Linked DNA regions of Homo sapiens: regions 1, 2, 3, 4, 6 and 7 are each linked to region 5. The links are contacts of gene promoters, found by promoter capture Hi-C in blood cells and fetal thymus (Javierre and others, 2016). All regions are on one chromosome and are shown on one strand. Each heading gives the region's core, a stretch centred on a gene start or on the middle of the fragment in contact. The rest is flanking DNA. Distances are from core to core; before and after follow the strand shown.

Region 1 (3,768 bases), core at 1,199-3,698, 830 kb before region 5:
CGATGGGGATTTTGAACCCAATCTACAATATTCCTTCACTTTTTTCTGAAGCTTGAGTGGAAAGAGCTGCAGAACCTGCGGAAAGTCTGTTGAGCTGTTGCAGAGCTAGTTTAGTTCTGGGGAGCATCTCCTATGAGTTAATTTGAGGACAGCTAATCAAATTTGTTAAAAAAAAAAAAAAATGAACTATCATAATCAGGAGCCCTAAGGAGAGACTCACTTGGGGCCAGTTCTTCAGGTTTCAGCCTCAGCCTGGGCTCCACGGTTGGGCTTCAGGCAGGCATGGCTAGGAGAGTTCAAGGTCAAGATCAAAGACCTGATGTGTCAAACCCTCAGAGACCACAGGACCTGATTATTTACTCACCGGCAGGTGCTAACTAAGCACTTATCCAGTACCCCACTGGGATACTGAAATGCCTAAAACACAACAGTGCCTGCCCGGAGGCAGTGAATGTGGAAGGGGAAACCTACAGGTAACAGAGAGAGAGCAAGCAGGGCTGTCACCAAAGTCAGGAGTGCCCAGGCCTCCCTGGAAGCAAACATCCCAGGGGAACTGAGAACAGCAACATGAGCCAAGGCCAGCAGAGACTTGTTCTGCTTGTTCCAGGTACTGGTTTTTTAAAAAAATCTTAATTGGTGACCAAGTTTTAAAAATCAGTAAATCTCAACAATAAAACAAATAACTCAACGTTAAAATGGACAGAAGACTGGCTGGGCACCGTGGCTCATGCCTGTAATCCCAGCACTTTGGAAGGCTGAAGAGGGCAGATCACTTGAGGTCAGGAGTTCGAGACCAGCCTGGCCACAATGGTGAAACTCTGTGTCTACTAAAAATAGAAAAAAAATTAGCCTGGTGTGGTGACACACACCTGTAGTCCCAGCTATTTGGGAGGCTGAGGCAGGAGAATTGCTTGAACCCAGGAGGTGGAGGTTGCAGTGAGCAGAGATCATGCCACTGCACTCCAGCCTGGGTAACAGGAAGACTCCATCTCAAAATAAATAAATAAATATAATGGACAAAAGACTTAAATAGACATTTCAAGTCCAAAGATGATATACAAATGGCCAACAAGCACATGAAAAGATGCTCAACATCACTAATCATCAGGGAAATGCAAATCAAAACCATAATGAGATATCACCCCACTATCCCCTCACAACCACTAAGAGAGCTACTATCAGGAAAAGAAAAACAAAACAGAAAATAAAGTGCTAGCAAGGATGTGGAGAAATTGGAACTCTTGTGCCCTGTTGGTGGGAATGTGAAATGGTGCAGCTGCTGTGGAAAACAGTATGGGTGTTCCTTAGCTAAAAGGAAAAGAATTACTGCCGGGCACGGTGGCTCGCACCTGTAATCCCAGCACTGTGGAAGGCTGAGGCGGGTGGATCACGAGGTCAGAAGATCGAGACCATCCTGGCTAACACAGTGAAACCCTGACTCTACTAAAAATACAAAAAATTAGCCAGGCGTGGTGGCAGGCGCCTGTAGTCCCAGCTACTGGGGAGGCTGAGGCAGGAGAATGGCATGAACCCGGGAGGCGGAGCTTGCAGTGAGCTGAGATCGCGCCACTGCACTCCAGCATGGGCGAAAGAGAGCAAGACTCCGTCTCGAAAAAAAAAAAGAAAAGAAAAGGACAAGAATTACTATATGATCCAGCAATTCTGCTTCTGTATATACATCCAAAAATATCGAAAGCGGGGTCTGAAAGAGATATATGTATGCCCACATTCATAGCAGCAATGTTCACAACAGCAAAAGATAGAAGCAACCCACGTGTCCATCACAGATGAATGGATAAAGACAATGTGATACAGTCCCCCCTTATCAAAGGTTTTATTTCCATGACGTCAGTTACCTGTGGTGTCAGTTACCCACAGTCAACCATAGTCTGAAAATAGGTGAGTACAGTACAGTAAGATATTTTAAGAGATCACATTCATGTAACTTTCATTACAGTATATTGTTATAATTGTTCTATTTTATTACTAGTTATTATTGCTAATCTCTTACTGTTCCTAATTCATAAATTAAACTTTATCATAGATCTGTATGTATAGGAAAAAAACATAGTATCTACAGGCTTTGCAGTTTCAGGTATCCACTGGGGATCTTGAAATGCATCCTCCAAGGATAAGGGGGACTACTGTTATCTACATACAATGGAATATGATTCAGCCTTGAAAAGAAGGGAAATTCTGACACCTGCTACAAAGTGGATGAACCTGGGGGGCATTATGCTAACTAAGTGAAATAAACCAGTCACAAAAGACAAATACTATATGCTTCTACTTACATGAGGTACCTAGAATAGTCAAATTCATAGAAACAGAAAGTAAAAAGGTGGCTGCCAGGGACTGGGGACGGGAAGTGGGGAGGTATTGTTTCATGGGTAGAGAGTTTCGGTTTTGCAAGGTGACAAAGTTCTGGTGATGGATGGTGGTAATGTCTGCACAACAGTGCGAATGTACTTAACAATACTGTACACTGAACAATGACTAAGATGGTAAGTTTTATACGTTTTTTACCAAAATAATAAAAATTTAAACCAGTCAAAAAAAATCAGGAGATTTTATATAAAAATCTAGAAATGCAGCAGGCACTCACTCATGGCAAGGATGGGCTGGGCTGAAGGCGGCCTCTCCCTTCACTCCATGACAGCCAAGTGCCCTCCAGTGTGGCCCAGGGCACTGGAGTTTGAGACCCCTGTCTGCTGTTCAGCCTGTATGGTGGAGATACAGCCATGGTCTGCCCTTCTCTGAGAGATAAGTGGTGACAAGCTACCTGAAATACACAGAGCAGCAGCTAGGCCTCCCTGAAAACCTCCGAAGTGACAGCCACCACGAATCTTCAGCTGATGCATTGCACAAACACTGTCCTCTTGGCGAGAGTGCAGGATGGAATTACACCAGTCACCAGAGGCACGTTAGGCTGACTCTCCTCCCTGTCTGGGGCTCCTAGCACCCAATACCAAGTAAGGATTTCAAAACACATCCCTGGCTTCTTGCTGCTCCCAGCAGGAGGCTAGAGGTCCAGCCGCAGGCAGCCAGCCCCAGGCATAACTGCTCCCTCCACATTCCTACCCATGCTCTCAGCAGAAAGGCTGCTCAGTCAGCATGTCCCAGCAAAAGATCAGAGAGTGGGGAAAGGTTCCAATTCCTGGGGGCTCAAGAAGGCAGGACAGCAACTTTGTATATTTTATGTATGTATGTATGTATGTATGCATGCATGTATGTATGTATGTATGTATGTATGTATTGAGACAGAGTCTCACTCTGTCGCCTACACTGGAGGGCAGTGGCGTGATCTCGGCTCACTGCAAGCTCCACCTCCTGGGTTCAGGCAATTCTCCTGCCTCAGCCCCTGAGTAGCTGGGACTACAGGCGCCTGCCACCACACCCAGCTAATTTTTGTATTTTTAGTAGAGACCGGGTTTCACCATGGTGGCCAGGCAGGTCTCGAACTCCTGGCCCCAACTGATCCGCCTGCTTCGGCCTCCCAAAGTCCTGGGAGCCACCGCACGCGGCCAGAACAGCCATTTTGGAACAAACTCTAGTAGACTCCTTGGTGTCATCCTTCATTCCTTCCCTTCTCTCACATCCAAACCACCAAAACCAGAAGCCACCCTCAGACAAGCCCACCCTTGCCATAAGTGAGTGCCTGCTGCGTATCTAGATTTTTATGTAAAATCGCCTGAATTGGAACCTTTCCCCACTACTGGCTCCTCCTTCAAAATATATCCAGAATCCAACCACTTCTTCACCATCCCC
Region 2 (3,750 bases), core at 747-3,246, 660 kb before region 5:
CCACACCTGGCTAATTTTTGTATTTTTAGTAGAGACAGAGTTTCACCATGTTGGCCAGGCTGGTCTCAAACCCCTGACCTCAGGTGATCCACCCACCTCGGCCTCCCAAAGTGCTGGGATTACAGGCATGAGCCACCATGCCGGCCTCTATCTCCTGTCTTCAACAATAGCTTTTTCAAACCTTCCACCTTCCTACTTATCTCCCTTTATTGTGGTCAATAAATGTCCTTTTAAGAGGAAAAAAAAAAAACAGTCCATTAAGTAAAAACTTTCAGCTTCCTGGTCTTCCTCTTTGCCCACTACTCTCAAACTTATACTCTACTCCCATTTCAGAGGAAATGGGAGCCCTTCACTTGTCTGGGACCAATTCTCTGTATGCTTTAGGTCATATTTCTCCCTGCATAAGATTACTCAAGGACCTCTGTCCTCAACCTAAAGCTCTCTCTCATTCTTTTGTTCCCAGCTGGTTCCCAGGGTGCCTACCCTTTGTTTGTTTGTATCACTGCAATAAAACTGCTCTCCTTAAATCCATCAGTGACTTCCTCAGTGCTAGGCTCAAAAAGACACTTTGTAGTCCTTAGCGTCCTAAATAATTCAGCAGCATTTGCCCTTGTAAAAACTGCCTTTTAAATTAAAATATATATATATATTTTAAATAAAGACAGGATTTTGCCATGTTGCCCAACCTGGTCTCCAGTTTCTGAGCTCAAGCGATCTGCCTGCCTTGGCCTCCCAAAGTGTTAGGATTACAGGTGTGAGCTACTGCACCCAGCTGAAACTGCTTTCTCCCACCCCCCCCCCCCCATTATTTATTTATTGATTGACACTGATTCTCTCTTTTTTTTTTTTTTTTTTTTTTGAGACGGAGTCTCATTCTGCTGCCAGGCTGGAGTGCAGTGGCATGATCTTGGCTCACTGCAACCTCTGCCTCCTGGGTTCAAGTGATTGTCGTGCCTCAGCCTTCCAAGTAGATGGAATTACAGGTGCACACCACTATACCTGGCTAATTTTTTTTTTTTTTTTTTTTTTTTTGGATTTTTAGTAGAGGTTGGGTTCAGCGTGTTGGCCAGGCTGGTCTTGAACTCCTGACCTCAAGTGATCTGCCTGCCTTAGCCTCCCAAAAGTGCTGGGATTACAGGCGGGCGTGAGCCACCATACCCAGCCTTTTTTTATTTTTATTATTTTAATTTTACTTTAAGTTCTGGGGTACATGTGCAGAATGTGCAGGTTTGTTATATAGGTGTACATGTGCCATGGTGAACTGCTTTCTTAAAATTCTCTTCTCCCTTGACTCCAGGGTACCATTCCCTTCTGATCTTTTTTTCTTTGTTTCTAGGGCTGCTTTTCTCAGTTTCCTTCCTGGGCTCCTCTTCTACCTCCTATATCTTAAATATTGTTATTTCATAGAGTTCTGTCCTTGTCATTTTAGTTCACTCTGCATATTTCCCTGCCTGATGCTAGCCACTCAGTCACCCCTGCTATTGGCTTATGACTTCCAAATCTGTCATCTCCAGTTCATGTTTTTTTTCCTGAAATCTAAAGGCATATATTCAACTGTGTACCAGACATCTCTGTTTTGGATATCACAGTTTCCTCAAACTCAGCATGTACAAAATAGAATTCATCGTTGTTCCCTGACAACTTCATTCTGTTCCTGTTTTTCCTATAACCTACTGATTACCCAAGCTAAAATCCTGCATCTTGGCCTTGATGATGCTTCCCCCAATATTTAGTCCCTTAGTACCAAGTTGTACTATTTGACTTTCTTAAAATATTTCTCAACTCACTTTCCTCCTATGCTCCATTGACTGTCTCACTCGAGACTATCTGGATTACTGTAAAAGCCTCTTGACCAATCTTTCTGCCTATACTTTTGTCACTGAAAAACTACCACTAGGTTGAATTCCTTTTTTTCTTTTTTTAATAGAGATGGGATCTCCCTGTTTCCCAGGCTGGTCTCGAACTCCTGGGCTCAAGCAATCCTCCTGCCTCAGCCTCTCAAAGTGCTGGGAGTGAGCCATTGTGCCAGGCTGTAGGTTGAACTTCAAAATGAAAATTTATCTGTGGCATTCCACTGCTTAAAATTTTTCCTTGACTTGCTGTTGCCTTGGGATAAACTCCAGACCCCTAAGTGTGATCTACTTCTTACCCTCACTGTCAGTTGAGTTATTCCCAACAAAGGTGATGTGCCGCTTTACATTTCACAAGCTCTTCACTTTATCATCAGTATCTTTCATCTCTCCTTCTCTCCTCCCTTCTGCCAGCTTATTACTCCTTTCATCCTTTCAGACCAACTCTAGCTTGGACTTCATGAAGCAATTCCTGGGCCTGGCTATAAGTGTTCTTATTCCCTATATCTGGGTCTCCCTCCTGGGGTGCTGTCTTTGCATCCTGTGCTATAACCTTTACCATAATGTCATTTATTTTGTCTGTCCCCACTCCCAAACTATGTAATGGGAAGGTCAGTCCTCCTGCGTCCCCAGGATCTATTGTGGTATTAGATGTCAGTGAGAGGAGCTGAGTTGATGTGAAATGAAGTGACCTGACTGACAGTGGTCAGGTGTTGCTGTTGACACACAGAAATGGAACACAGCCATTTAACTAGCACAAGATAGGGACTAGCACAAGATTTAGCTAGCACAAGATAGGGACTACATTTGCGGTTTTTCAAGCTCTCTTTTTTTGTTTTTTTGGGAGAGTCTCACTCTGTTGCCCAGGCTGGAGTGCAGTGGTGCAGTGGTGCAATCTCGGCTCACCGCAGCCTTCACCTCCCAGGTTCAAGTGATTCTTGTGCCACGTGGTAGCTCATGCCTGTAATCCCAGCTACTTCGGAGGCTCAGGCACAAGAATCACTGGTCTCGAACTCCTGGGCTCAAGTGATCCGCCTATCTCGGCCTCTCAGAGTTCTGGGATTACAGGTGTGAGCCACCATGCCAGGCCTCAACCCCTCTTCTTTATCATAGGTATTGCGAGTTAGATGTTCTGATAGGAGACTTCTTCACAACTTGCAAACCTGCTCCTTCTTCCCGTAGGTATTTACATGAGGAATTTCCAGAGTCCTGGTCAGTTCCCAGGTTGGCTGAAGGCTTTGATGTCAGCACTGATGTGATCCGAAGAGTTTTAAAAAGCAAGTTTTTACCCACATTGGAGCAGAAGCTGAAGCAGGATCAAAAAGTCCTTAAGAAAGCTGGGCTTGCCCACTCGCTGCAGCACCTCCGGGGCTCTGGAAATACCTCAAAGCTGCTCCCTGCAGGCCACTCTGTATCAGGCTCTTTGCTTATGCCAGGGCATGAAGCCTCATCTAAAGACCCAAATCACAGCACAGCTTTGAAAGTGATAGAGTCAGACACTCACAGGACAAATACACCAAGGAGAAGGAAGGGAAGAAATAAAGAAATCCAGGACCTGGAGGAGAGCTTTGTGCCTGTTGCTGCACCCCTAGGTCATCCAAGAGAGCTGCAGAAGTACTCCAGTGATTCTGAGAGCCCCAGAGGAACTGGCAGTGGTGCGTTGCCAAGTGGTCAGAAGCTGGAGGAGTTGAAGGCAGAGGAGCCAGATAACTTCAGCAGCAAAGTAGTGCAGAGGGGCCGAGAGTTCTTTGACAGCAACGGGAACTTCCTGTACAGAATTTGAGTCGGGGCTTGGCTTATGGAGATGCCTCGTGAAACACAGCTGGGCAAGTATTAATGTATATGGAACAGCCTGGATTTCTGCATATGGATAAGCCACCTTGGAATAGGAAGAGGTGTT
Region 3 (3,854 bases), core at 694-3,193, 790 kb before region 5:
TCTTTCTTTTCTTTCTTTCTTTTTTTTTTTTAATGAGACAGTCTTTTTCTGTCACCCAGACTGGAGTGCAGTGACGTGATCTCAGCTCACTGTAACCTCTGCCTCCCAGGTTCAAGCGATTCTCCTGTCTCAGCCTCCCGAGTAGCTGGGACTACAGACACCCGCCACCACACCCGGCTAATTTTTGTATTTCTGGTAGAGATGGGGTTTCACCATGTTGATCAGGCTGGTCTTGAACTTTTGACCTCGTGATCCACCCACCTTGGCCTCCCAAAGTGCTGGGATTACAGGCGTGAGCCACAACGCCCGGCTTTTTCGTATTTTTAATGGAGATGCGGTTTCACCATGTTGGCCAGGCTGGTCTCAAACTCCTGACCTCAGGTGACCCACCCGCCTCAGCCTCCCAAAGTGAAAGTGCTGGGATTACAGGTGTGAGCCACCGTGCCCGGCCTTTCTATGCTTTCTTGTCACATGAGCTACAGCTTTTACTGAAGGCTTGGGCAATAGAGGGGTGTACTGGGGTGTACTTAGTAGGAAAACAAACCATTTCAAAAAGAATAGTACAGATCCTGTTCTTAAAAGTCCTTTGAGGTCTGGCATGGTGGCTCATGCCTGTAATCCCAACACTTTGGGAGGCCAAGACAGGCAGATCACAAGGACAAGAGTTCGAGACCAGCCTGGCCAACATGGTGAAACCCCGTCTTTACTAAAAATTAAAGAATTAGCCGGGGGTGGTGGCATGCGCCCGTAGTCCCAGCTACTCAGGAGGCTGAGGCAGGAGAATTGCTTGAACCTGGGAGGCAGAAGCTGTAGTGAGCTGAGATCGCACCACTGTACTCCAGCCTGGGCCACAGAGCAAGACTCCATCACCAAAAAAAAAAAAAGAAAAGAAAAAAAAAAAGTCCTTCGAGGCTGGGTGCAGTGGCTCACTCCTGTGATCCCAACACTTTGGGAGGCTGAGGCGGGCGGATCACCTGAGGTTGGGAGTTCAAGACCAACATGACCAACATCGAGAAACTCCATCTTACTAAAAATACAAAATTAGCTGGGTGTGGCAGCACATGCCCGTAATCCGAGCTACTCGGGAGGCTGAGGTAGGAGAATCACTTGAACCCAGAGGCGGAGGTTGCAGTGAGCTGAGATCACGCCATTGCACTCCAGCCTGGGCAACAAGAGTCTCAAAAAAAAAAAAAAAGCCCTTTGGTCTCCCCGCCACTGTGAAATTCTCAGTGGACACATACCTCCCAGGCTCTGCCCTTGCCATTTTGTTTTCTCCCTCCCTCCTCCCTCCTTCACCCTTCATTTCTATGACCATCTTTCCATTTCTTCTTCTCTTTTGGGGTCCCTCGCCCCCAAGTTCCGGTTAACGTTCTCTGTAAAGCCGTTTGATTCCTCCTGTGTTTAAACATCTTCCTTCAACTATGTCCTTAGCACCTCCCCTTCCTCAACAAAAGTGGCTATCAAGATATTTTCCTAAACAAAAACCGGTCTCACCCTGCTAAATGCATTGGAAACTTACCACCTGGTGTATATATTGGCCTCCTGAGCAATTGATTAGTCTGAGTCCACAGCTGGGACCTGGCTCTCCTCTCCACCAGCTGCCAGGCGGAGGGCAGACCCAGGGCCCCAGGGGTGAATTTGTCAGGGCAAAGGCCTCTGTGGGCAGCCTCTTGGCAGCCTGCCAGTAGCCCCTTCTGGCAGCGTCCCACCTCTCCCGGCATCACAGATCAAGCCTCAGAAGAGCAGGGCCTAAGGAGAAAACCCGAGAGTGACGATGGCAAAGAGTGATCACAACACCCCAGGTGGGTGGACTCCGGGGGAACGCAGAGGTACTCGGGCCCAGAGCTGGTGGGAGAGGGGAGGTGATGGGAAACTGGACACCCAGAAAGTCCCACCAGCATGGAAATCCACTGGGGGGCTCAGCACCCCTGGAGAGGCACTGGGAGTTGGGAGGATCAAAGGAAAGACAGGGCTCTCACTGCCGGTGAATAGGACAAGCTGGGAAGGAAACAGACAATGCTTTCCAGGTTGGATTGCCAAGGCAGAGAGGCAAGAGAGGGGATGGAGAGAAGTCTTCAAAACTGCCATTCAAGGCCAGGCACAGTGGCTCTCCACCTGTAATCCCAACACTTTGGGAAGTTGAGGCAGGAGGATCGCTTGAGCCTAGGAGTTTGCGACCAGCCTGGGCAACATAGCAAGACCCCGTCTCTAAAAAAGTAGAAAACTTAGCAGGACATGGTGGTGTATGCCTATAGTCAGAGCTATTCAGAAGGCTGAGGTGAGAGGACTGTGTGAGCCCAGAACATCTAGGCTGCAGTGAGCTGACATCACACCACTACACTCATTCAGCCTGGACGACAAAGTGAGACCCTGTCACAAAAAAAGAAAAAAAAAAAAAACAGGCCAGGCATGGTTGCTCATGCTCATAATCCTAGCACTTTGGGAGTTTAAGGCAGGCAGATTGCCTGAGTTCAGTAGTTTGAGACCAGCCTGGCCAACATGGTGAAACCCGGTCTCTACTAAAAATACAAAAATTAGCCAGGCATGGTGGGGAGCACCTGTAATCCCAGCTACTCAGGAGGCTGAGGCATGAGAATCACTTGAACCTGGGAGGCGGAGGTTGCAGTGAGCTGAGATCGCACCACCGCACTCCAGCCTGGGTGAAAGAACTAGACTCCATTTCAAAACAAAACAAAAACCAAAAAACTGCTCTTCAATAAGCCCTTACCACGTGTCAGGCACTGAACACTGACAGCAGCTAACAATTACACTGACTTACTCCACACCAGGCTTGTTCTAAGCAGCTGCTGTCCAATAAACACATAATGCAAGCCACATAGGTAGTTTTGTTGTTGTTGTTAATGTTTGTTTTTGGGTTTTTTTTGAGATGGAGTTTCACTCTTGTTGCCCAGGCTGGAGTGCAATAGTGTGATCTTGGCTCACCGCAACCTCCGCCTCCCGGGTTCAAGTGACTCTCCTGCCTCAGCCTCCCGAGTAGCTGGGATTACAGGCATGTGCCACCATGCCCGGCTAATTTTGTATTTTTAGTGGAGATGGGGTTTCTCCATGTTGGTCAGGCTGGTCTCAAACTCCAGACCTCAGGTGATCCGCCCGCCTCGGCCTCCCAAAGTGCTAGGATTACAGGCGTGAGCCACTGCGCCTGGCCTAGTAGTTGTTTTTTAATTTATTAATTTACTTTTCACCATGGCAGAAAAGAGCGTAGTTTTAAAAACTCTAGTAGCTGCATTTTTAAAAGTAAAAACAAAAAACCCACTGGTGAAATTAATTGTAATAATATATTCTATTTAGACTGAGTGTGGTGGCTCACTCCTGTCCTCCCAGCAGTTTGGGAGGCTGAGGCAGGCAGATCACTTGAGGTCAGAAGTTCAAGACCAGCCTGGCCAATATGGGGAAAGCCCGTCTCTACCAAAAATACAAAAATTAGCCAGGCGTGATGGCATACGCCTGTAATCCCAGCTACTCAGGAGGCTGAGGCAGAAGAACCGGTTGAAGCCTGGAGGTGGAGGTTGCAGTGAGCCGAGATGGTGCCACTACACTCCAGCCTGGAGGTGGAGGTTGCAGTGAGCCGAGATGGTGCCACTACACTCCAGCCTGGGCAACAGAGTGAGACTCCATCTCAAAAACAAACAAACAAATAATATATTCTATGTATTACAATATATTCTATGTAACCCAATATAATCAATAATTAGGGAGTTATTTTACTTTTTTTTGAGACAGGGTCTCACTCTGTTGCCTAGACTGGAGTGTGGCACGATCACAACTCACTACATCCTTGACCTCCCCTAGGCTCAGGTGATCCTTCCACCTCAGCCTCCCGAGTAGTTGGGACT
Region 4 (3,583 bases), core at 177-2,676, 610 kb before region 5:
ACTTGAGGTCAGGAGTTCGAGACCAAGGTGACAACATGGTGAAATCCCCGTCTCTACTAAAAAGACAAAATTAGCAGGGGGTGGTGGTGCATGCCTGTAATCCCAGCTACTTGGGAGGCTATTATTTTTAGTAATAATAATAATTTAGTAATTTTTGTATTTTGTATTTTCACCATGTTGGTCAGGCTTGTCTTGAACTCCTGACCTCAGGTGATTCACCCACCTCGGCCTCCCAAAGTGCTGGGATTACAGGTGTGAGCCACCACGCCCCGCCACCAAAACCAGTTTTATTGAGGCAGCAGTGTTACCGCTCTGTAACTGCTCCTGCAGGAAGAGCTAGCCCATAGTCAGTGTGTGGAGAGTAGCAGCTAAGGGGCAGTTCCACAGTCATATTTATACCCACTTTTAATTACATGCAAATTAAGGGATGGGTTTTTCAGAAATTTCTAGGAAAAGGGTATAACTCCCAGGTTGTTGCCATGGAAAGGGGCAGTAACTTCTGGGTGTTGCCAGGGCACTGGTAAACTGACATGGCACTGGTGGGCATGTGTTATGGAGAGGTGCTTTCCCCTCTTCCCTGTTTCAGCTAGTCTTCAATCTGGCCTGGAGTACAGGCCTGCCTCCTGCCTCACAACTGCTGCTAATCAGGATGTATACTGAGGGTAACTTGACTCTATGCTCCCAGTTTGCAATATCTAGCTTGGCCCAAATAGATCCTCTGTCTTACTATTGTTATTTATTTTTTTTTAAGAGAAAAGGTCTTGCTCCTGTTGCCCAGACTGGAGTGCAGTGGCAGGATCTTAGCTCACCATAACCTCGAACTCCTGGGCTCAAGCAATCCTCCTGCTTCAGCCTCCTGAGTAGCTGGGACTACAGACATGAGCCACCATGCCTGGCTAATTTTTAAATTTTTTGTACAGATGGGGTTTCACTATGCTGCCCAGGCTGTTCTCAAACTCCTGGCAAGCAATCCTCCCAACTCAGCCTCCCAGAATCCTCGATTACAGGAGTGTACCACTATGCCCAGCCCCAGATAAATTCTCTACTTATATTAATTTTGCTTCAGCTTCCTTCTAGGTTGACAGTTCCCAGTTGACTCTCAAAATGTTTGTGAAATTAAGCAATTTCACTGGGGCATGGTGGCTCACACCTGTAATCCCAGCACTTTGGGAGGCCCAGGTGGGCAGATCTCTTGAGGTCAAGAGTTTGAGACCAGACTGGCCAACATGGTAAAACCCTGTTTCTACTAAAAATCCAAAAAAAAAAAAAAAAAAAAAAAGTCAACCAGGCATGGTAGCGCACGCCTGTAATCCCAGCTACTCGGGAGGTTGAGGTGGGAGAATCACTTGAACCCAAGAGGCGGAGGTTGCAGTGAGCCGAGATCATGCCACTGCCCTTCAGCCTGGGCAACAGAGAGAGACTTCATTTAAAAAAAAAAAGGCAATTTATTTAGTGATGTAAAAGTTTTCATGGATATATAAGGGAATCAGGGAGTCCTCAAGGCGGAAGAAGGTGAAGGAACAGAGCAGGGGAGGAAGAGGAGGGAGGAGAATCTCCCCCAGGCTGAGCAGACCAGGGCACTGAGCTCCAGATGTTTGCACCCCTCCTTTGTTTTCCCCATCTCTTCCCTACTCTCCAGGCCAGTCAGATGGCAAGGCCTGGACAACTGGAAGGAAAGAGAATGAAGGATGGAACTGGGGCGGCAGCTGTGTTGGCCACACAGGCCCTTCTGACTGGGCAGCATGGAGGCCACTTCTGCCAGCCTGAGAGTTGCAGAAGTAGATGGCAGGGAATCCCCTGCTTGGGGATGACACAGTAGGTAGATTAGAAAGTTGGAGAACAGGAACCGTAAGCCACTAGCAGGAACATGGTTGAAGAGCCGACCGTGGAGTCCAGACTGAGGGAGGAGGTAGAAAAGGAACAATAAGCAAGGAAGCAGAGGAGGCTGTGGCAAGGATAATGGGCAGCCCCAGTTATTCTAAGGGAAAAGGAGAGATGGAGTTGAGAGGCTGAAATGGAAGCAGCTCTGTGATGTGGCTGGCCTTTCGAGGTTACTGGAGCAGAGGAGGTAAAGGGACCATGAGCACAGGTGGTGGTGCTGTAATTAATAAGGATGAGGCCGGGCACGGTGGCTCACACCTGTAATCCCAGCACTTCAGGAGGCCACGGCAGGTGGATCACTTGAGGTCAGGAGTTCTAGACCAGCCTGGCCAACGTGGTGAAACCCCATCTCTACTAAAAATACAAAAAATTAGCTGGGTGTGTGGCGGGCACCTATAATCCCAACTACTCAGGGGGCTGAGGCAGGAGAATCACTTGAACCCGGGACACGGAGGTTGCAGCAAGCTGAGATCGTGCCATTGGACTCCAGCCTGGGCGACAATAGCGAAACTCCGTCCCCCCACCAAAAAAAATAATAAAATAAATAAGTATGCTGAAGCCACTGAGGATGAGAGCAAGACACTGGGATAAGGGGAGCCTGGTAGCCAGGTCCTAAAGCCATTCCAGAGGGCTGCAGAATGGCCCAGAGAAGAAGTTCTCAGCTAAGGCATGGCACTAATGACTAATCGATGGTTGTAATCATTTCTTCCTTTTTTTTTTTTTTTGAAACAAGGTCTTGCTCTGTCACCCAGGCTGGAGTGCAGTGGCACAATCATGGCTCACTACAGCCTTGACTCCTGGGTTCAAGCAATCCCCCTTCCTTAGCTTCCCAAAGTAGCATTACAATCAGCACCAGGAATTGAGCCCAGCTGAACTGAGCCACCATACGCATAGCAACTACAATTGAAATCTAGATGGGCGTGCTGTGCGTGAGGCAGGTGTTGGTAGGTCAGGCTACAAATTAAGTCTCAATCAATATTATTTTATTTTATTTTTTGAGACAGGTGAAATCTGAGAACATTATAAGTGAAATAAGCCAGTCAGACAAAGACAAATACTGTACGAGTCAGCTTATATGAGGTACTTAGAGTAGTTAAAATCTTAGAGGCCAGGCATAGTGGCTCACACCTGTAATCCCAGCACTTTGGGAGGCCGAGGTGGGAGGATTGCTTGAGCCCAGCAGTTTGACGCTAGCCTGAGCAACATAGTGAGACCCTCTCTCTCCAAAAATAAAATAAAATAGAATAAAATAAAATAAAATAGTCAGGCATGGTGGCACACGCTTGTAATCCCAGGTATTCCAGAAACTGAGGTGGGAGGATAACTTGAACCTGGGAGGTCAAGGCTGCAGTGAGCTATGATCACACCATTGTATTCCAGCCTGAGCAACAGAGCGAGACCCTGTTTCAAAAGAATAAAAAATAAAAACATTATAGAGACAGAAAATATGACGATAATTGCCGGGGGCTGGGGACAGGGGAAAGTGGGGAGTTATTGCTTAATGGGTATAGAGTTTCAGTTTTACAAGATGAAAAGAGTTCTGCAGATGTGTGGTGGTGATGGTTGTGCAACATTATGAATGTACTTACTGAACTGTATACTTCAAAACAGTTAAGCTGGTAAATTTTATGTTTTGTGTATTTTGCCAAAATTTTATAAAAAATTAAAAAAATAAAATCATTGGAGGCTGAGGCACGAGGAT
Region 5 (3,489 bases), core at 113-2,612:
GCTCAGGAGACACAGAAAAGATGGCGTATGAATCCTGTCCGGCCTGAACGAGGCTGGAGTTGTGCCTCTGGATAGCTTCAAGCACTGATCAGATTGTCAGCCCCCGCTGCTTGAACAGATGCTTTAGAGCCTCTTCCAGTTGCCGGTTTGTTCCCTGAAGCCCCTTCACCACCTGCGCTGCCCACTCGAAGTATTCCTGGACTCGATGTTCTGACCATCCTGCATAAGAGTCGACAGAAACTTGCTAGCGTGATGTCAAGGAAAGCACTGCCTTTTCCCCACTTCCTGGCAAGCTTGGTTCAAGGCCATGAGTTCCTGATGGAATGAGCTGTCCTGAAAACTTCCCCTTGGCCCAGCTATTGTATTTTTACTGTATGAAAGAAGATCAAAGAGTGGTCCAGTAGGATTAATTTGGGAATTAAGAATGCCCAGGGTTTTTCAGGGGAACTGACCAACATGTGTCTTCAGAAGGCGGCATCCCCCTCCCTTTTCCCTTACAGCCCATACGAAAGCGTACCCTCTGGGGTGCAGCGATTCAGGTCCCTCAGATTGTACAGCTTGTCTGCCAGCTTCACCAGTTTGGCCCCGGGGCTACTGTGGGGCGCTTGCTCCACCTGCAGCCTCTTTCTCTCCAGCTTGGGCAGAGTCTTGTCATCTGTTACCTCCTCCACCAGGCGCCGCACTTGTGCCCCAAAGTGTAGCTCCACCTCATCCAGGGTGGTGTCTGTGTCCTCCACCGTGTCATGGAGCAGGGCCGCCTGGGGACAAGTTCCCACTCAGCCCTGAGATGTCAGCCAAGGGTTGCCCATTGCTGAATGGGGCCCCTAATCCCCATCCCAGGCTCCTGGCAGAGAAGGGGGAAAGTTACCTGTAACACCACAATGTCAGTGATTCCCGCCTCGTGGGTCAGGATCCGTGCCACACCTGACGGGGAGGGGCAAAGCAGGAAGTCAGGTCGGAGGTAGTCCCAAGGCGGTGTGTTGTGGGTTTTGGAGAGCCAGATGTGGCCCCTTGTGGACTCTGACTAGCTGGGTGACCTTGGTCAAGTACCTTACCCTCTGGGAGCCAACCGACAAAGGGAACGATCATGCCTACCGTTCCAATTGTTATGAGGCTTAAACGGTATATCGCACTAAGCTTGGGACAAAACAGGTGCTCAATGAGGTGCACGCCCCCCACGTTTCCTTCCCAGTCCCCACCACCCAGGTGCCGCAGCCGGCGCTCCGCGGCCGACGCGCCCACCGATGGGGTGGTTGATGTAGGGGGTCCCCTCGGGGTCCTTCCGCCGCTGCTGCCGGTGCTTGCGAGCCGCGAAGTCGGCAGCCTCCAGCAGCTGCGCCGCCTCAGAGCCCATCGCGCGGATGGGGCCGACGACTGCGGCCGCAGGGGCAGGGACGGAACGTTTACAGCGCCCCCTGGCGCCGGGGAGGCCCGGGGATCGTGGAGGCTAATTCAGCGGGCCGAGTTGGGCCTGCCCCAGATGAATTCCTCTGGAGCTGACCGGCCCGCGCAGAGAGCAAGTGATGTGGACAGCTGCCTTCAGCATCGCAGCCCCCAGCTCAGTGTGCTCTGTTGGGGGTGCAAGAAGAACATAAGCCTGGCTCTTTGGGAGCCCACAGTCTGTGGAAAAGAGGAAGACAGACAAGAAATAAGGCAGTGGCCTCACAGTGCTCTGAATCCAGGGTGGCCAAGGCTCAGGGGACTATGGGAGCGGGAAGAAAGAACAATCCCCACACCCTCAGAGTCAGAGACAGCTTCTCCCAGAAGCTCCCCCCAAGAACCATCTTCAACCTGTAAAAGCTCTGAAAATTCTCCAAGTGTTCTAAAAATAGTTCTCCCTGTAGGGATGGGCCAGGTTCTGTGGGCAGGGGAGTCTACCTTTGGACCCTCCAGGAGACCCTAGGGCCTGACCTGAAAAATCAGAGCCTTCCCTGGGAGCCCTGCCTAATTGCTTCAGACTTAGGCTCCCAGGTAGCTGTGACGTTTCTGCAGGAACTGCCTTTGTTTGTCCTCAGTGTTGCAGATGAAATTTGCCTTGTCTTCTTATGCTATGAGAGCTCCTATTTCAGTCTCTAGGCATCTTCTGTGGGCCCCTGGGGTGATGAGTGTTGTCACTGCTGTCCTGGGAGCATGATGTTGTCAGGCCTGGGTAGGCACTGGAATAACACTTAATTCTGCTGGCTGGTGGCCTTCTGGAGAAATTCCCTGCCTTAGGGGCAGCTGAGGGGTAAGAGAGACCTGGTGATCCCCATAGAACTTCTCTGTGAGAGGGGGTTCCCTATTAGCTAAGTATACTCTAATCAGACATGTAGCTTTTGTGTTCTGGCTGGTAGCTGGGGCAGATAAGGCTCAGGGGAAAGGCTAATGAAAGGAGTCACCCTTGGTTTTCAGCTAGTCTTGGTGGTTGCCACGTAGCAGAGGTTAGGGAGGGAAGCCCCACATGCTGGAACTGAGGTCTCTGGGACCTGAAATAGGAGGGTCAGAATTCCCAGAGCTTCCATGGCAGCCTGGAAGTTGGAGAATGGGTAGAAACATATTTGGCTGTAAATGCTTGTTTGTTCTTCATACTAATGGCTCAGCTGCTCTCTCATCCCTCATTCTGTCCTCTAGTCCTTTGAGCCTTCTCTCCTTCAGCAGTTTGGCAATGCAGGCCCCACGTTTTCCAACAGGAGACAGAAACCCAGTCCCTGTCATCTCTCTCTAAAAGCCTGTGATAGAGAAGCTTCAGGCTCGTATTAATGGTGCCCAAGGGCCTTGGGGCTTTGACTTTTATTTCCTTATTGTCTGCAGTCACGGCCTAGAAAGAGAGATGTTGGGGTTCCCAGGACCAGGACAGAGGTGGTAGTGAACTCTCATGGGCATCCAGAGAAGGTCAGGCCCCTTGCTGACAGGCCTATCTGTGGGGCTACTGCTGCTCTTCAGCTGGGTGACCCTTGTCCAGCCAACCTCTCTCTCAGGTACAGCACTTACCCCTGTGGCCCACCTGCCTCTGGTGCTATGGGCTATTCCTGGGAACTGGAACTGATGGGGATGGGTGGAAGGGCATCTTTTCTTCTGGTAGGGGCTGATCTCTTTTACTCTCCAGTAGGGGTGGAGTGAGCTGTGGAAAGGCCCCTCCTGCTTGTCTCTAGCACCCCCACCTCTCTCTTCAGCTCTGGTCCACCACCCTCACTTGTGCCAGACCACCCGGGATGTCCATGGCCGTCACTACCCTGGTTTCTTTTGCCCTCGTCTGTCTGATTCTCCAGAGGAAGCCTACTGCTGCCACCTGCAGGCTGCAGGGGGCTCCTGCTGCACCCGGGCTGAATTTGAGGCCCTGTACCAAGTCAATCTGTCCGCTCTTCCGCCCCCGCCCATCCTCAGGTGAGATCTCCAACCCCAGAGCCACTGGAACATCGACAGGGTGTTCCAGTATCTGGGGCTCTGTTCCTAAATTATGGGGTGGTAGGCTTGTAACTTACAGACTAGTGAAGGGACAGACCGCAACAG
Region 6 (3,594 bases), core at 801-3,300, 570 kb before region 5:
CCCTGACGCTTAATTTGGCCAGACTTTCATCTTCTCCCAGCCTCAAGTTTTACCTACCTCACAAGGTTGTTGTGAGGATCTAAAAATACACACACACACACACACACACACACACACACACACACTTTGTTGGTTAACTATAAATGTAATATCTCTATGTTATAATTCTGTTGCTAATGTCTTTTTTCCAAGAAAATTTTGGCTAATATTTCTTTAGGTATTCCTTTTTCTCTCATAGTGAGGGATTAAAAAAAAAAAAAACTGTTGAAAAATTAGGGCGTAAAAATGCTAAATGACATGACTCATCATGGGCCACGTAGTTAACAGAAGAGCCAGATTTGGCTGCAAGTCACTAGATTTCCAGCCTGCAGTCCTCCTCTGCAACAACAGACCAGCTCTGGGATTTGTTACAGTGCCTGTGAGACATTACAGGACTGGAGGACCCATATTATATCCATTAAACCAGTCTGAATTTGGAAATGATGGAGGGTGTAGTCTAAGTTGTAGGGAGCTTTGCAAGAACCTGTGCTGGGGTCCTTGATCCTGGTGGAATGGGGGTGGAGGAGTGAGCGCAAATGCAAGGGGTTAAGGAGGGAGCTGGGTAGTTATCACTTTTTAGAGTGCAAAGTGGTGGATTAAAGGTTTCTTTTCTTTCATTCTCTTCCATTATATGGAATGCCATCTGAGTGCTGTGGCTCATGAAGGATAGAACTCAGCTGATAACCTTACCTCAGTTTTTGAAAGCATCATTAGATAATTGACCAGAAAATTTTTTTTAGTTAATCCAGTGCAGTGGTTCTCAAACTGTGAGCCCAGTCCAGTAGCATCAGCATTATCTGGGAACTTTTTAGAAATGCAGATTCAGGCCGGGTGCAGTGGCTCACACCTGTAATCCCAGCACTCTAGGAGGCCGAGGCGGGTGGACCACCTGAGGTCAGGAGTTTGAGACCAGCCTGGCCAACATGGCAAAACCCCACCTATACTAAAAATACAAAAATTATCCAGGTGTGGTGGCATGTGCCTGTAATCCCACCAATTTGGGAGGCTGAGGCAGGAGAATCACTTGAACCCAGGAAATGGAGGCTGCAGTGAGCTGAGATCACACCTAGTCTCGAACTCCTCACCTCAGGTGATCTGCCTGCCTCAGCCTCCCAAAGTGCTGGGATTACAGGTGTGAGCCACCGTGCCTGGCCACCTATCATTTTGTTTGTTTTTCATGTTGTTCAGCTATTGTAAGATGTGAGGGTTTTTTTGTTTTTTGTTTTTTTTAGGTGAAGTCTTGCTCTGTTGCCCATGCTGGAGTGCAATGGCATGATCTTGGCTCACTGCAACCTCTGCCTCCCAGGTTCAAGCGATTCTCCTGCCTCAGCCTCCGGAGTAGCTGGGATTACAGATGCATGTCACCATGCCCAGCTAATTTTATATGTTAAGTAGAGACGGGGTTTCACCATGTTGGCCAGGCGGGTCTTGACCTCCTGACCTCAGGTGATCCACCTGCCTTGGCCTCCCAAAGTGCTGGGATTACAGGCGAGAGCCACCTCACCTGGCCACCTATCACTTTGATTTTCATGTTGTTTGGCTATGGTAAAATGTGAGCTCTCGAAGGGCAATGTGAGATTTGCTTTGTGGCCCTGCCAATCCCCTCCCTCCTCCCTGTCTTCCTGCCCACCCCCCCCCACTCCCCCGCCAGCCATGAGCAGGGAATATTTCAATGCTATTGCTGAGAGTGGAGGTAACCCTTTCTATAGTTTTCTTTTGTTTCTACCTCATGACTAGATGATTCACTGCTTGAACATGCTCCACACATCCGTTCTTTCTCACTCCAAAATTGAGGTCATCACCAAGCCCCATTAATTTTACCTCCCAGATTCCTCTCGAACCTATCTGTCAAATCTGTCCATCTTCACTGCCACCCTTCAGTACCAAATGACCAGTCTCTTACCTGAATTCCTGTAGCAGCCTCCAAACTGATCTTCCTGATATGATTTTTGCTCTGAAAAAACTGGTTTCACTCACAGAAACCAGAGTGAACTTTTAAAATCCTAAATCGAATCACATCACTTCTCAGCAGCTTTCCATTGCTTTTAGAATGAAGACCCAAATCCTTACCCAGGCCTAAGAGGCCCTTGTGGTTTTGTCCCCTCCCCCTCCATCCTCTTGTGATATCCCCTTCCCTCTCCCTTGCCTCACCTCAGCACTCTTGAGTTCTCTGCTCCTTGGTCATGCCAAGGTTGTGTGCTCTTTAGACCCTTGGTACTAACTGTTCCCTCTGCCCAGAATGTTCCTCGCCCAGTCCTTTGTGTTGCCTCCTATTTGTCAACCAGGTTTCAGCCTAAACCTATCTCCTTAGGAAGACTTTCCCTAACTATCCCATCTAAATTAGTCACCCTCCATCACATTATCCTCTTTTTTCATCAAAGTCCTTACACCTGTCTGGCAATTTCTTATTAATTGATTTGTTTTTGGTAAACTCCACGAAAGGTGGGAGTCATTTCTCTTGTTTCCATTCTTTCCACAGCACTTAGAACAGTGCCTGGCACATGGTAGGTGCTCAATATGTGTTTACTGGATGAATTAATGAGTGCATGCTCATGGGCAAGGATCTCATTGTGCTGGAAAAGCAGCAGAGTGAGACAAAACTGGACAGGTGAGTGAAGGTCACACCAAGAAGGTTCTTAGCTGCCAAACTAAAGGGTTTGGATCTTACTCTCTGGAGAAAAGGGTGTAGCTAGTGGTTTTATAGGAGAGGAGAGGCGCGATCCGCACTTGAGAAGGTCAATTTGGCCGCTGTGTGTAGGTCATATTACGGAGAAAAAAACTAAAGGCTTTGAGACAATCCATGATGTAAAGGGCTTAGCACAGTGCCCAGCACGCAGTAGGTCTCCAGCGAGTCGTTATCACCAAGCACCAGGGCAGGCACCACAACAAAAAGATAAGATCCCTAACCCTTCTTTTACCTCGAAATAATTCCTCCTAGACCCTATCATCGCATTCCTTCTCTTCCCCTTTTGTCAAACTTCCACTCACATGTAGATATTCTCAGGGTTATCATGCCTAGGCCTTTTTAATAGGGCCACTTACCCTAGCATGCTTCTACAACTGGACCCTCAAAGGTCTTTTAGGGCTGAGTGTGGTGGCTCACACCTGTAATGCCAGCATTTTGGGAGGCCGAAGCCAGAGGACTGCTTGAGCCCAGAGGTTCAAGACCAGCCTGGGCACCATAGCCAGACCCTGTCTCTACAAAAAATAGTTTCAACAAATTAGCCAGGCATGGTGATGTGCGCCTGTCATCCCAAGTACTTGGGAGGCTGAGGTGGGAGGATTGCGGATTGCCTGAGCCCAGGAGTTCAAGGCTGCAGTGAGCTGTGATCATACCACCGTACTCCAGATTGCGTGACAGAGCTAGAACTTGTCTCTTAAAAAAAAAAAAAGACTTAATTTCCACATCTGAAGGCCTCTTGTTAGTCTTCTTCTGATTCAACAACTCTTTACTGTTTGATGCCATTTACATATGTTTATTATTTTTTAGAGATGGGGTCTCATTCTTTTGCTGAGGCTGGAGAGCAGTGGTGCGATCATGGCTCACTGCAGCCT
Region 7 (3,847 bases), core at 207-2,706, 590 kb before region 5:
TTGGGAGGCTGAGGTGGAAGGATCACTTGAACCTGGGAGTTTGAGGCTGCAATGAACTATGATCACACCACTGCATGGAAGCCTGGGTAAGAGAGTGAGACCCTGTCTCTAAAAAAAAAGTTTCAGGTGTCAACTTGACTAGATTAAGGAATACCCAGATAGCTGAGAAAGCTTTATAGTTATGCCTGTAAGTGTGTTTGGAAGAGACTGGCATTTAAATCAGTAGACTGATAAGGAAGATCTGCCCTCACCCAGGGTGGATGGTAGCATCCACTCAGCTGAGGGCCCAGATAGTGCAAAAGGGCAGAGGAAAGGCGAATTTTCTCTCTCTCTCTTCTGAGCTGGGACACCCTTCTCCTGATGTTAGACATCAGAACTCCAGGTTCTTCAGCCTTCAGACTTCAGGACTTGCACCAGCAGCCCCTCAAGTTCTTGGGCCTTTGAACTTAAACTGACTCACACTACTGGCTTCCCTGGTTCTCTATATCTATATATCCTATTGATTCTTTCTCTCTGGAGAACCCAGACTAATACACTCACTGTGATCCTTGCCTCCAAGTATTCATACCTTTGTGTAGTCCCCTCCCACACTGTACCAGGGTTGGTCTGTGTGACCAAAGGAGTATGGCAGAAATGATGGTCTATCACTTCCAAGGTTAGATTGCAGCTTCTGCTTCTTTCTCTCAATCACTCACCCTGGGGAAGCCAGCTGACACGTTGTGAGGAGAAGCTACACGTGAGGAAACAGTCACATGAGGGAGCTTGGGAGCAAGCTGATCATCCAGCCCCAGTCAATCCTACAGATAACTGTAGTCCCAGCCAGTGTCTAGACTGCAACCTTGTGAGAGACCTTCAATTAGAGATACTCACCTAGGCTGTTCCAGATTCCTAATCAACAGAAATAAAATAATTTTTTTTGAGACAGGGTTTCACTCTGTCTTCCAGGCCAGAGTGCAGTGGTGCCATCCTGGCTCACTGCAGCCTCAATCTCCCCAGGCTCAAGTGATCCTCTTACCTCAGCTTCCCAGGTAGCTGAGACTACACGTACGCATCACCAAACCCAGCTGATTTTTTTATTTTTAGTAGAGACGAGGCCTTGCCATGTTGCCCAGGCTGGTCTTGAACTCCTGGGCTCAAGCAATCCTCCTGCCTCAGCTTCCCAAAGTGCTGGGATTACAGGCATAAGCCACTGCACCTGGCAAATGTTTTGTTTTGTTTTTTAAGGTAAGCAATTATTTCATTTCCTTGGTGAAGGGGTGGCCTGCCCCTCCACACCTGTGGGTATTTCTAGTCGGGTGGGACAAGAGACTGAGAAAACAAATAAGACACAGAGACAAAGTATAGAGAAACAACAGTGGGCCCAGGGGACCGGCACTCAACACACCAAGGACCTGCACTGGCACCGGCCTCTGAGTTCCCTCAGTTTTTATTGATTATTATTTTCATTATTTCAGCAAAAAGGAATGTAGTAGGAGAGCAGGGTGATAATAAGGAGAAGGTCAGCAAAAAACATGTGAGCAAAGGAATCTATGTCATAATTAAGTTCAAGGGAATGTACTATGACTGGACGTGCACGTAAGCCAGATTTATGTTTCTCTCCACCCAAACATCTCAGCGGAGTAAAGAATAACAAGGCAGCATTACTGCAAACATATCTCGCCTCCCACCATAGGGCGGTTTTTCTCCTATCTCAGAATTGAACAAATGTACAATCGGGTTTTATACCGAGACATTCAGTTCCCAGGGGCAGACAGGAGACAGTGGCCTTCCTCTATCTCAACTGCAAGAGGCTTTCCTCTTTTACTAATCCACCTCAGCACAGACCCTTTACGGGTGTCGGGCTGGGGGACAGTCAGGTCTTTCTCATCCCACGAGGCCATATTTCAGACTATCACACGGGGAGAAAACTTGGACAATACCCCGCTTTCAAGGGCAGAGGTCCCTGCAGCTTTCCACAGTACATTGTGCCCATGGCTTATTGAGACTAGAGAATGGCGATGACTTTCACCAAGTATACTGCTTGTAAACATTTTGTTAACAAGGCACGTCCTGCACAGCCCTGGATCACTTAAACCTTGATTTTATACAACACATGTTTTTGTGAGCTCCAAGTTGGGTCACAGTGGTTGGGTCAAAGTGGCTGGGGCAAAGCTACAAATTAACAACATCTCAGCAAAGCAATTGTTTAAAGTACAGGTCTTTTTCAAAATGGAGTCTCTTATGTCTTTCCTTTCTACATAGACACAGTAACAGTCTGATCTCTCTTTTCCCTTCACTTGGCCTGACAGCATTGACTTCATTACACAAGAACTTGCAGCTGACAGAACTGACACACAGATTTCCCCCAAGAGGAAGAACCCTTTTCATTTGCAGAGATGAATTGAAATGTCATGTCTGAGTGCAATTCCTGCTCCCCACTCCCACCCCACAAAATCCTATAAGTGATAATAAATCAATAAAATCCCCATGATTTACTAAAAGTCATCCCTGCAAACCTTTCTAACTAGCAGCTGCAGTGGATAACCAAGAAGGGAAGCAGCTGGCCATCACATAGCATTCCTGTGAGTGTGAGAATGAAGGGACAGCAGCATGGGAGCGAGAATCCTGAATGAGTGAGAGGTATAGATAATCTACCTCACTTCATACCTGCCCCTTCCCTACATAAGACATCTCTGTCCTGATACATGGAAAATACTAGAGGAGATGGTAGAAGTGGTTTTAGTCTGCAATTGGAAATGCCTGAAGCTTATTAAATTCCAAGGTAGGGGTGAGATGAGGAGCACCAGAGAGAAAGAGCAGGTTAGACAGAGATGCTCAACTCACTCTGTCAATTCCAGTTTAATGCTATTTAACAACAAAATTATCTTCTTAATCATAACCACCCTCATGCCTAACCCCTATTTTCCAAAGATAAGAGATCCCTGTCTAAATTTCTGGGTTGGTGTCTACTGCCGCCCCTGGGGTGGTACTGTGATGTTTGTGAGTGAGATTGCAACTGGGATGGGAGAAAAGAAGTGTGGGATACGGAAGATCGGGGGCCACGATGCATCAATTACAGTGGGTCTCTTTTCGTCCCCAGGTATGGCCCACTACCACAAGTCCCCTTTCCCTACCTGTCTTGTGCAACTGTCAAAAACAGAATCTCTGCCCAAAGAGAAGGGAGCACAGGGAGTTGCTGCTGGACTGCCATCATCTCTGACCCCAACTTGTCCACCTCCTGACCGACCTTTCTATGAAACTGCACAAAAATTAAATCTCAGGAATGCCATAAAATTACATCATCCCCATTCCTCTATCAAAGCCAATCCAACAGCTCTGTCCTGACATGCTTTCTCCCTGGGCCAAGGAAGCAACAAAAAATATCAGTTGAGCATGTGAAAATGCGTTGACGGTGTGTGCGGTGTAAAGTTTCTATATGTCTTCACCTTCTGTCTCCTCACGGTGGGAGCCGCCCTCTCTTTCCCCAAGTCACACACACACCCCTCCCCTACCCCTAAGTCCAGGTGCTTCCATCTGCTGGGCTTCCAACCACTCATTTCCCATAGACACTCTCATTACTGTAGGCCACATACAGAAAATCATCTTCCTCATGACTGTCCTCATATAGTTGGCCCATGGTAGCACTAGTGGGAGGGATAGTGTTGTTGACAAAGAAGAATAAGGCGTCCTCAGGTCTCAGGTGGATTCTCTTCCGGATTAAAAGGTAGAACTGGCCATCGGTAAGGTCGGAGGGCACTAGGTACTTCCTCCTGTCCAGATCAGGCACCCTTGCTTTTGGAGCCTTCTCTACAATCAAGGGGACCCTGTCCGGATATTTCTTCCGGATCTTTTCTCCTTCCTTTTTCCG

The links. Contacts are between HindIII fragments. The CHiCAGO score rates a contact against its expected background, and 5 or more counts as called.
Region 1: a fragment that was not itself captured here is called in contact with the fragment with the promoter of HDDC3 in region 5 in 2 of 17 cell types (total CD4 T cells and fetal thymus); the score reaches 6.0 in total CD4 T cells.
Region 2: a fragment that was not itself captured here is called in contact with the fragment with the promoter of HDDC3 in region 5 in 3 of 17 cell types (total CD4 T cells, fetal thymus and naive CD8 T cells); the score reaches 6.6 in total CD4 T cells.
Region 3: a fragment that was not itself captured here is called in contact with the fragment with the promoter of HDDC3 in region 5 in 1 of 17 cell types (erythroblasts); the score reaches 5.2 in erythroblasts.
Region 4: a contact is called between a fragment that was not itself captured here and the fragment with the promoter of HDDC3 in region 5, in 7 of 17 cell types (total B cells, naive CD8 T cells, total CD4 T cells and 4 more). The highest score is 9.0, in total B cells.
Region 6: a fragment that was not itself captured here is called in contact with the fragment with the promoter of HDDC3 in region 5 in 1 of 17 cell types (naive B cells); the score reaches 5.8 in naive B cells.
Region 7: a fragment that was not itself captured here is called in contact with the fragment with the promoter of HDDC3 in region 5 in 1 of 17 cell types (naive B cells); the score reaches 5.1 in naive B cells.

What each region holds. Positions count from the first base shown.
Region 1 is chr15:90,095,306-90,099,073 of GRCh38, forward strand. All of the region lies in intron 1 of IDH2 (isocitrate dehydrogenase (NADP(+)) 2), which reads right to left. Among named protein-coding and RNA genes, the nearest start is that of IDH2-DT, 4.9 kb to the right of the region's middle. RefSeq lists an enhancer at 121-645. The HindIII fragment of the contact is 4,798 bases long and covers 50-3,768 here.
Region 2 is chr15:90,268,156-90,271,905 of GRCh38, forward strand. It overlaps NGRN (neugrin, neurite outgrowth associated), which reads left to right. Exons shown (of 3, transcript NM_001033088.3): 3 at 3,033-3,750. The coding sequence ends at 3,633. Among named protein-coding and RNA genes, the nearest start is that of NGRN, 4.4 kb to the left of the region's middle. The HindIII fragment of the contact is 6,495 bases long and covers 1-3,750 here.
Region 3 is chr15:90,143,808-90,147,661 of GRCh38, forward strand. No RefSeq gene overlaps it. Among named protein-coding and RNA genes, the nearest start is that of IDH2, 43 kb to the left of the region's middle. RefSeq lists an enhancer at 1-268. The HindIII fragment of the contact is 7,167 bases long and covers 1-3,854 here.
Region 4 is chr15:90,324,082-90,327,664 of GRCh38, forward strand. No RefSeq gene overlaps it. Among named protein-coding and RNA genes, the nearest start is that of ZNF774, 26 kb to the right of the region's middle. The HindIII fragment of the contact is 8,593 bases long and covers 1-3,583 here.
Region 5 is chr15:90,931,187-90,934,675 of GRCh38, forward strand. It overlaps HDDC3 (HD domain containing 3), which reads right to left and starts at 1,363. Exons shown (of 4, transcript NM_001286451.2): 1 at 1,243-1,363; 2 at 869-924; 3 at 518-758; 4 at 1-219. The coding sequence starts at 1,354. The coding sequence ends at 89. It also overlaps a transcript of UNC45A not described here. RefSeq lists enhancers at 531-760, 1,511-1,560, 3,185-3,284. The HindIII fragment of the contact is 1,585 bases long and covers 1,136-2,720 here.
Region 6 is chr15:90,362,662-90,366,255 of GRCh38, forward strand. It overlaps ZNF774 (zinc finger protein 774), which reads left to right. Exons shown (of 4, transcript NM_001004309.3): 4 at 1-186. Among named protein-coding and RNA genes, the nearest start is that of ZNF774, 12 kb to the left of the region's middle. RefSeq lists a silencer at 216-510. The HindIII fragment of the contact is 7,636 bases long and covers 1-3,594 here.
Region 7 is chr15:90,345,312-90,349,158 of GRCh38, forward strand. It overlaps the pseudogene GABARAPL3. Among named protein-coding and RNA genes, the nearest start is that of ZNF774, 5.0 kb to the right of the region's middle. The HindIII fragment of the contact is 2,574 bases long and covers 170-2,743 here.